Linked DNA regions of Homo sapiens: region 1 is linked to region 2. Evidence: promoter capture Hi-C in human tissues and cell types (Jung and others, 2019). All regions are on one chromosome and are shown on one strand. Each heading gives the region's core, a stretch centred on a gene start or on the middle of the fragment in contact. The rest is flanking DNA. Distances are from core to core; before and after follow the strand shown.

Region 1 (4,459 bases), core at 67-2,566, 520 kb after region 2:
CTTTCCTCTCCACTTCGTCCTGTGGATCCAATCATCCCTGTGGAAGGACGATGGGAAAATCTGCCTCTTGGGGCCTCAGATTTCCAGATCTAAGTTCCAGCTGCCAAGAGGACACAACACAGGGTTCTCAGAGCCGCCGCACCCTAATTTCATCTCCCCGCACTGCCCCCACCCCACAAACCCCCGGGAGCTCCATATGGTGAACGGCATGTCAGGGACGCTGCCTCCCAAGCAGCACCCTCCGGATGTCTCTGCTCCTGCCCTATGGACGGTGAGTCCATCCCAGGCGTGCTTCGAGTCCTCCACAGTCTCCCCCAACTCTACCTACTGCCCTGCATCGCTCTGTGCCCCTCTCCAGGCCTCAGCCTGTCCTGGACCTTCTGGTTCTGATGACCCTCGGCCTGCTGCCTTCCAGCCCATGCCTTGCACTGCAGCCAGAGTGCACTCCAGGTCTCCTCTCCTGCAATGAGGGTCCACCCCAGCGCCAAGTCCCAGACCCCACCTCCCACCACGCGATGCCCTGGGGGACTCGGCCTCCGCCCACCTCCCCAGCCGCCCCTCCCTCCAGTGTGTGTCCTTGCTTGCACCTGTGCCTCTCCTTTCTGGGACTCTACCCATTCCACCACCTCTTCCATTGGTCAGTCCTTATGCAGTCTCCAGGTCTCTGCTTTGAATTACATTTTCTCTGAAGCTTCTGCTCAGTGACCAGGTGTCCTGTGTCCCCACCAGGAACTGTTTCTTAACGTCTGTCTCAGGAGAAGGCTGTCAGATACATGAGGACTGGTCTCCTCCCTCTCCAGGCCTCAATTTCCCCCTCTGCTCCTCGAGGTCGGGGTCTGAGTTCTATCACACTCTGTATCTTGGTGGGTCTCAGAACCTGGTGCGGGGGTCGGGGGGTGTTGGGGAAACCTATGTTAAATGAGAGAAGATGGATAGAGAGAAAAACTCGAGACCAGAATAACGGGAGAGGGTGCAAACACAAGACAATTCCACTCAAACAGAGCCCAGCTGGAATCCTGGAGGAACCCTGGGTTCACAGGGAGGGGACAAACTAGATGGGATCCACAGCACACCCCGGGCACCCCAGATGAGGGCAAACAGGCCTCTCAGGGCCAGGAGGGATGATTCCTCTGGAGACTTCCAAGCCATGGCCCTCCCCTTCTCCCCGGGGCCAGGCACTGCTTGGGCAGGTGGCAAGGAGGTTTCCCTGTGCTCCCAGAACCTGACACAGGCCTGGCCCACGGGGAACCGTCAGGTGTAAGGAAGGGGCACTGCCCAATTGTAGAGGACAAGGGACAGGAGCAAGGCCTGCACAGAGCTGCATGGGGCTACAAATGGTCCCCTGGAAAGACGGGAGGCACTGGACTAGCAGGGGCGGCCTACGCAGGCGTTGTCATGGCCCATCTGGTGGTCCCTGGTCGGAGAAGCTGGGAAAGAGCAGCCCCTCCAGAAGGGCTTTTTTGACCTAAGGTGACATCAGTCGGCACCCTACAGATTCCCCCACTACCATCCTTCCCACCTCCAACAACCAACATCCAGCAGAAAACATCTGCCCAGACTTCTTAAGAGGGATGGAGACGAGCCATCTGTGGTAGACCACCACTCTCTGAGCTGGTCGTGTTCTCAAAATTGCCCTATCTCTAATGCTTGCCAGAGACAGTTACGGGGCCAGCCGCCCTGGGGTGGCTGTAAGCGGGAATGGCTGGGGCCTAAAACCCAGTAGCAGGAGCCCCGAGACCAGGCCACAGCAGCCAGGTGCCTGGGGAGGTGAGACAGCAACCCTGCCTGCCACGCCCTCCCCACGGGCTGCATGGGGAGCACATCCTCTGCCTCTTCTGGCACAGGGCGGTGGCTCCTGGTGAATTTCAGGGTTAGCATGGGCATAACATGCCACATGTGTGTACGTGGGTTTGGAGGTGAGGAGGGGGATTCCACCCCAGGGAACCACTGACCATCCATCTCTGTCCTGGTCAACAGGAAGGAGGCTGTTTGGGGGAGCTTCCCCGGGGGCTGTGGCCCTCACTTCCAGAACCGTGCCATGGCAGGGCTCTCCCAGGATGCAGGTGCCATGAGGGTCTCGATCCTCCTTTTAGAGAAGGGAAGGTGGGTGAGGCCAAGATCAGGAGAACATTGTTAGAACTGTCTGGTGTTGGGCGGAGGGTGGTAACCGTGGGCCCTTCACTGTCCTCTGTTCTGTGATCTGCTTTCGGAGGGCAGGACCAGCCATGTGATTCGTGGGGCTCTGTGCAAAATGGGAATGTGGGCTCCTTATCAGGAACTTCAAGATAGAGACAGCAGAACATCCAACCCCAAGAGCCGGGCCCTGTTGCACATCCAGGAAGCCGGCTCAGCTTGGGGGCCCCAAATATAAACTTGCCTCCCTGCCCAAAGAGATGGATGCCAGTTTACAAAAGTGGCCTCCTTTTGCTGTTGTATAAATTCACACATCACCCAAATGTTCTTCATCTAGAACCACCTCCTCCTGCCGACTTCAACTTGTGGGGTGCATTGAGCAGTGGATCTCCGCTCAGGGGCAATGTCAAGGGTTCTGGTCTCTCATCTCTCTCCTTTATAAAGTAGGGGTGCTGCACTCAACCAGGGCTGCTCCGCTCTGTGTGGACCAGGGCGGGGTCTGAGTCAGCATCACCCTGCCCGGTTCTGAGGGCAGGGCCTGGGGAGACCACGAGAGCCCACCCCGCCCTGACGCTGTCCTCCCATCCTTCTGGCCCTAACATTGAGTTCTGTTTCTCTTCCCTGGCATGGTGTTTTTAACAAGAATCCCACATCTTTGGACCAAACCCGGCTGTTACCCTGAAGGCCACCAATAAATTTCTTAGGCAAATAAAATTGACTGAAAATTAGCATAAGAAGTCTTAAATTAACAGGATGTAATTTTATGAGTATTTCACAAACTAGTCAAAGATGTATGTCAGCCCGGGGTGAGTCAACACTTTCAAGTGTCTTTCATTATATAATGCTGCTAATTTTTTTCAAATGTAAGCAATGTGCTTTCTTCCTAAACATCGTGTTCTTTGTTCTGCAATTTGGAAAAATAAATTCCCTTTAAAGCACTGCTTTGCTCAACCACAAAACAAGGTAGGGAGGCCAGATCAGAGGTGCCCTGGCCCCCCTCTGTCTAGATAGCCCCCAGCCACACAGTGGAGGCGCTTGCTTCCTGCAGAGGAGACTCCACACTCAGGGTCATGGGAGCTGGCACTGGAAAGCTTCCAGACGGAGGCTGCGCGCAAGGTGCTGACTCCTACGGTGACGGGCGTTAGCTGGGAAAAGGCGAGCACTCCCGCCTTCTGTCTGCAATGCAAGGCAGCACGCAGGATTCCCAGGGTCTCAGCCACAGGTGCAGGGCAGTGCATGTTCCACATCTGCTGAGCTCCTGCAGGCCCCAAGCTCTGTGCTAGGTGCTGGGGGTGCAGAGGCAGGTAAACCCCGGCCCCACCCCCAAGAGCTCACAGTCTAGGTTAGGAGACGAGCAGCTGGTAGCTGCCACATGTGATCAGGGTGGACAAGGGGGCCTGCCTGGACCACCTTGGAGCACACGAAGGAGGCCACTTCCAAGCCCACGGCCTGAGAAGGTTGCAGATGGGGCAAGCTTGAAGGACGTCTTAGAGCATGAGCCAGCACTCACTGGGGATGGAGGAGGTATGATGGAGTTGAGGGGACAAGGACCCTGCAAACAGAGCGGACCCCGGTTCACACCGATGCTTACCCTGAGCATCCCCCATGTACCAGGAAGACATGCGGTGGCAGCGTCCTTGGGCAGTGGCTGTCCTAGGTGCCCGGGTTACTGAGTGACACTCACGAAAGTGTGCTGGAAGATTCTGACTCAGCTCTGCAATGCCATATTTAGCTTGCCAAGGATGCGGGCTGGTGTGTGAAGTCTAGAGGTCAAAGGTGGTCCAAGGAGGAGACCCTCAGACGGTGGTGGGGGCTTGGGACCAGATGAAGTTCCCCAGGGCGATGCAGAGATGCAGGAAGAGCACCCAGAACAAAGCCCTTGGAAATCCAACCTCAGGGCCCAGGGGGAGGGTGGGCAGCAATGAGGCTGGAAAGGCGTGGCCAGTCTCAGGCAGGGAAGGACCAGGACCAGGACCAGAAGAAGGCAGGAGCTCAAGGAGGGAGGGAACAAGAAGCTGGGATCTGACAGCATGGAGACCATCAGGACCATGGCCACAGGACTCTGGAGTGTGGTGAGGAGGAGCCCCGTGGGTGTGGGCCAAGGAGGTGCTAGGGAACGAGGGAGTGGGCTGTTCCTTGTCTCATGTCTCCCTCCCTCTCCAACCATGATCCTGAGCCCTCATCTGTGCCCTGGGCCAAGTGCTGGGAACAGAGCAGTGAATTCAGTCCACTCAGTCTATGGCCCTTGGAGCTCCCAGGGCAGAGCAGCTAAGCCCTGTTGAATCCTGGTGTGATTGAGTAGCCATGACCAGGAGAACGTGGCCAC
Region 2 (4,475 bases), core at 1,494-3,993:
CCTCAAGTGTCCCTGCATGGGGCTCTTGAAGAGGGCCCGGGTCCAGTGGAGCCTGGGTGCCCGCCTTGGAGATCCTCTAGCTGGCGGGGGCAAGGGCTCTGGGGTGCAGCTGTTGGAGGAATGGCTGGAAGGGGTTGTGACCAGGCCCTGTCAGCACAGTGCTTTTCTGCTTACAAAAACCGGAGTTCCTTTCAGAGACAGGTGGGACATTCCTGTTTATGGGCTAAGAAACAGGGCTCACAGATGGAAGAGACTGGGCCCTTGGTGGGCACGAAATGGAGATAGGATTAGAGAGCAGGTGCCCCCCAAGCCAAGGCAGTGCCCTTTCAGCGTAAGCCTGTGACATTTTGACAGACTCCCTTGGGCGAGAATACCCTCCTCTGGCCTCCCTCCCTTTCCTAAACTGGGGAGGGCTGTGGTGGGGCTGGGGGCGGGGGTGGGAAGGGGGAAGAACCTGGATGGGGAAGGGAGGAGTCTAGGTATGTGTGTGGGTGGGGACACTGGGGCCCCCTAAGTGCTCCATGCAGTCCAGGGAGTCTCCTCTCTGCGGGACTTTGGCAAGAGCCTGGGAGGCCCTTGCCCCAGGGCTACCCAGCCCTGAGATCCTCCACCCCTCCTTGGCTTCTGGCTGAGAACTCAGCTCTTCCAGGTCTGCCTGCTGTTGGGATAATTTTGGAGGCTGAAGTCAGGGGCCTCGAAGGGAGGGAAGAGAGGAACCCTGGTCAGGAAGACCTTGGCGATCACCATGCAGTGGACATTGGCACCCAGGGTTGGGCCTGTCAGCCAGACACTCTCGTTCTAGGCCAAGGGCCTTGGGCAAAGGACCTTCCATCACTGAAGTTGGTTTCTTGACTTGAGGAAAGAGTCCACGGAAGAAAGTAGGGTCACAGGAATGCAAGGGCATGTGGCAGGCACACAGTGGGCACCCCAACTGCTCCCTACAGCCTGTCCCCAAAGCCGTTCCCAGCAGCCCCTACCTATCTGGGCATTCTGCAGATAACATCAGGGAAGGGATATCTTCCACCAGGGGCTGGGAGTTTCCCTCCAGCCTCCTTGGAGCCAGCCCAGAGCAGCTCTGGTCTCTGTCCATCCCTGTACCCATCCCGAGTGCCTTACTGGAGCACTGACTTAGGGGTGGTGGGCCTGGGGATGCCCATGGGCCTGCCTTCCCACATCTATGGCTAAGATGGGAAATCTGTGCTCAGACCTGCCAGGGCTGGACTAGAGGGCCAGGAGGTCAAAGCATCCAGCCTCCAGGTTCACAGTGGTGAGATCACACCCCCCTGCAGCACTGTGAAGAAGGGGAGGCCGCGAGCTGGGTGGGCACCCACTCCCTGCATCTAGGATATGTATGCAAATTAATATATGCAAATTAAGTATCCTAAACGACCCACCCAAAGATTGGGACGCCTGGGACCCTTCCCCCAGGAGGTGAAATATCTTTAATCCCCTCCTACCCCTCTCCCTCCCTATCTTTCTGAGCCTCCCCCATCCAGACTGGGTGCAGGGGTGCAGAGCTTTCCTCTCCAGCAGGGCTCTAAGCCTAAGCCGGGGGCAATGGGGAGGAGGGGTGTCTGAGGAGCACTCCCTCTCCCTGGGAGCTCTGCAGAGGAAGAGGGTCTCTGGCAATCAGCATCCTCTACCTCCACCTCTCCAGCGGGCGACCCCTCAGAGAAGGTCTCCCAGTGAGTCTGGAATACGTGCCGAGTGCCTGGAGTGCTATTGTGTGTATGTGAGAGCACATTGGTGAGGCTGCCCATGCATGCCACTGTGGACAAAGACAGATGCGATCGTGTGTGTGTGGGGACTGCGTATATGTTTTTGTCAGTGTGTGTGACCACGAGTCAGCTGGGTATGTGTGCTTGTGGGTATCAGGTGCATGGCTGTGCGTACATGTGTGCGTAAGAGTCGGTGCATTTGTGTTTCAGCGCGGCTAAGGCCCTGACTGAGATGCTGTGTGTGCGGGGGTGGGTGTGACTGAATGCGGGCACGGGTGTCCGTCTGTTTATACGTGTGTTTGCGTGTTTGGGTGTGCAGGTGGCTCTGCGTAAGCGTCTGTGTGCAGGGGGTCGGCACATGGGGGAGGATGCCCATGGTTGGGTAACCGCAGGTCCGCTTGACCCTCTGCCACCTAGGACTGTGTCTATACGGCGTCTGGGCTACAGTGTGTTTGAGTTGCCGTGTGCGTTTCCGTTGCGGGGTGTGGGTTGCCACGGGGCAACTGCATTTTTCTGCGTCTTCATGGCCAGGGGTACAGGGGGCGTCGGGCTTTTCCTGGGGGTTTTTCTGTGTGCGTGTGTAATTATGTGCTTAGTTCACATCTTCATAGTGCGCCTTTGTGTTTTCCTGGGTATCTAACCATTGCACGTGTGCCCGGGACTTCAGCGATAAGTGTTTCGGTGTTCCTGCGTGCGGATTTGTGCTCTCCGGGGAGGTCTGCGGCCCAGGTTCGATTCCTGCGACTTGTCCTAGGCAGGCCTGTATGTGCGCGGCGGCCGCGTGCTGTACAGTGTGAGGGAACGTGTACCAAACGCTCGCGGGATACCTGTGCCCGTCTAGCCAAGAGTGCACCCGTGTGCGCGAGCGGGCTTCTGGGACGCCGCCGTGGTCGGGGGCGGCCCTGCGAGGGGAGGGGGTCACAGGGACTGGCCGGCGCCGGCCCCGTGCGCACGGAGGCGGGGGCGGGGGGCGGGGGCCGCGAGGGGGGAGGCGGTACGAAAAGGGCGGCGCGCGCGGCGGCGGCGGCAGCTCCCCGGCAGCGGCGGTGGAGAGCGCAGCGCGCAGCCCGGTGCAGCCCTGGCTTTCCCCTCGCTGCGCGCCCGCGCCCCCTTTCGCGTCCGCAACCAGAAGCCCAGTGCGGCGCCAGGAGCCGGACCCGCGCCCGCACCGCTCCCGGGACCGCGACCCCGGCCGCCCAGAGATGACCGCGACCGAAGCCCTCCTGCGCGTCCTCTTGCTCCTGCTGGCTTTCGGCCACAGCACCTATGGTGAGTTCCCCGGCGGCCCGGCTCGCGCCCCCTCTGGGGAAGCCTGCGACTCCCCGCCGGCCGCCCGGTGCCCCGCACGCCCCGTCTCGTGAGCCCCAACTCCGCCCGTCCCGCCTAGCCCTAAGCCCCGCGCTGTGCCTGTCTCGCCCTACCCACCACGCTCGCATGCCAAGGCCCGTCCCAGGGGTCCCAGGGCGCAGGGGATGTGTGAGACCCCCAGCCCCTTCCCGCCCTGCAGAAGTGGCGCCAGAGGGGTGTCGGTGCGCTGAGCAAGGAGGTATGGAAAAATGGGGTGCTGTTGTGGAGTCTTCTATGAAAATACTCTGGGGTGCAACTTTGGGGTGTCCCTGTGTGAGCGTTCTGGAACAGGTCTCGGGGCGGGAGTGGGGGACGACTTTGCCGTCTTAGCCCCCAATTCCCAGAGAAGCCCAGCCTGAGCCCTTCCTGCGTGGCGCGTTTCTGTAGGTGAGGGGCTGCGACACTTCTGTCTGCAGCGGCCATCTGTCTCTGACAGCGAGAGAGTTGCCCCCTTCCTGCAGCGCCCCCCCACTCATTGCACCAGTGGTTGTAAGGGGGCTGTCTAGAAAGCTGGGGAGCTGGTTGAGTAAATGCACACAGTAGGTGCCTGTTAAAGTGTCAGAATCTCTAAGCAGTGTTGTTGCAACCTCAGCCCGCTAAGCAAAACCCTGTGTCGTCATCGTTTTTTTAATGCGAAGAGTCTGGGGTAGGGGAAAGAGGGAAGATTTGACCTGGGTGCCCGGCTTAATAGGGATGAACCTTAAAAAGAATGCAGACGCCTTACTGGGGCGCCCACCAGGTGAACCTGTCTGGGCTTTCCCGGAGTTGAACACCTCAAAATCTGCTCCTCTTTTCAGCTCAGGTTGCAAAAGTGACGGTCAGGCTGCATGCCCAGGGCTCAACATATTTCCCTCCACGGTCCCCGTCCCCGCTGTTAGGAGGACTTGAGGTGTCGTATTTGCTTTTGGGAGTCCGAGGAGAAGGTGTTTCTCCTGCTCCTAAGAACGAGGGAGAGTGTACTGTGGTCATTTCATTGCTGGGAACGTGGCAGAGATGTTTTTCCTGAGTGCACTGAGCCCCATCCATGCTCGGATAGGAAGTGCCTACTGTGTGCCAGGCTGGTAGGACCCAAGAGGGCTGTTGGTGCCCTCGAGGGCAGTGGTGGGCTGTGTGGGCGAAGACAGCCTTTGCCTTGGCCTGGGGCCTGGTGGGGTGAATTGTATAACCTTTCTTGTACCTCAGGGGCTGAATGCTTCCCGGCCTGCAACCCCCAAAATGGATTCTGCGAGGATGACAATGTTTGCAGGTAATAGAGTGGCTCCTCAGAGGCAGCTTGTAGGGGCCACGCAGAAGCCTGGGGAGTCGTGAAGTCAGGCAGAAAAAAATAGGGGGCTTGGCCACTACGCTGCAGCAAACAGCTTCCGGGCCCCTGCAGAAAACTGGTGGGGCGAGCTGGGGAGATGGGGGGGG

The links. Contacts are between HindIII fragments. The study calls those that stand out against the background at their distance.
Region 1: a contact is called between a fragment that was not itself captured here and the fragment with the promoter of DLK1 in region 2, in 1 of the 25 tissues and cell types used here (stomach).

The regions. Positions count from the first base shown.
Region 1 is chr14:101,247,240-101,251,698 of GRCh38, forward strand. No RefSeq gene overlaps it. Among named protein-coding and RNA genes, the nearest start is that of LINC02285, 130 kb to the left of the region's middle. The HindIII fragment of the contact is 4,197 bases long and covers 1-3,415 here.
Region 2 is chr14:100,724,149-100,728,623 of GRCh38, forward strand. DLK1 (delta like non-canonical Notch ligand 1) reads left to right here and starts at 2,744. Exons shown (of 5, transcript NM_003836.7): 1 at 2,744-2,987; 2 at 4,248-4,311. The coding sequence starts at 2,921. The HindIII fragment of the contact is 15,317 bases long and covers 1-4,475 here.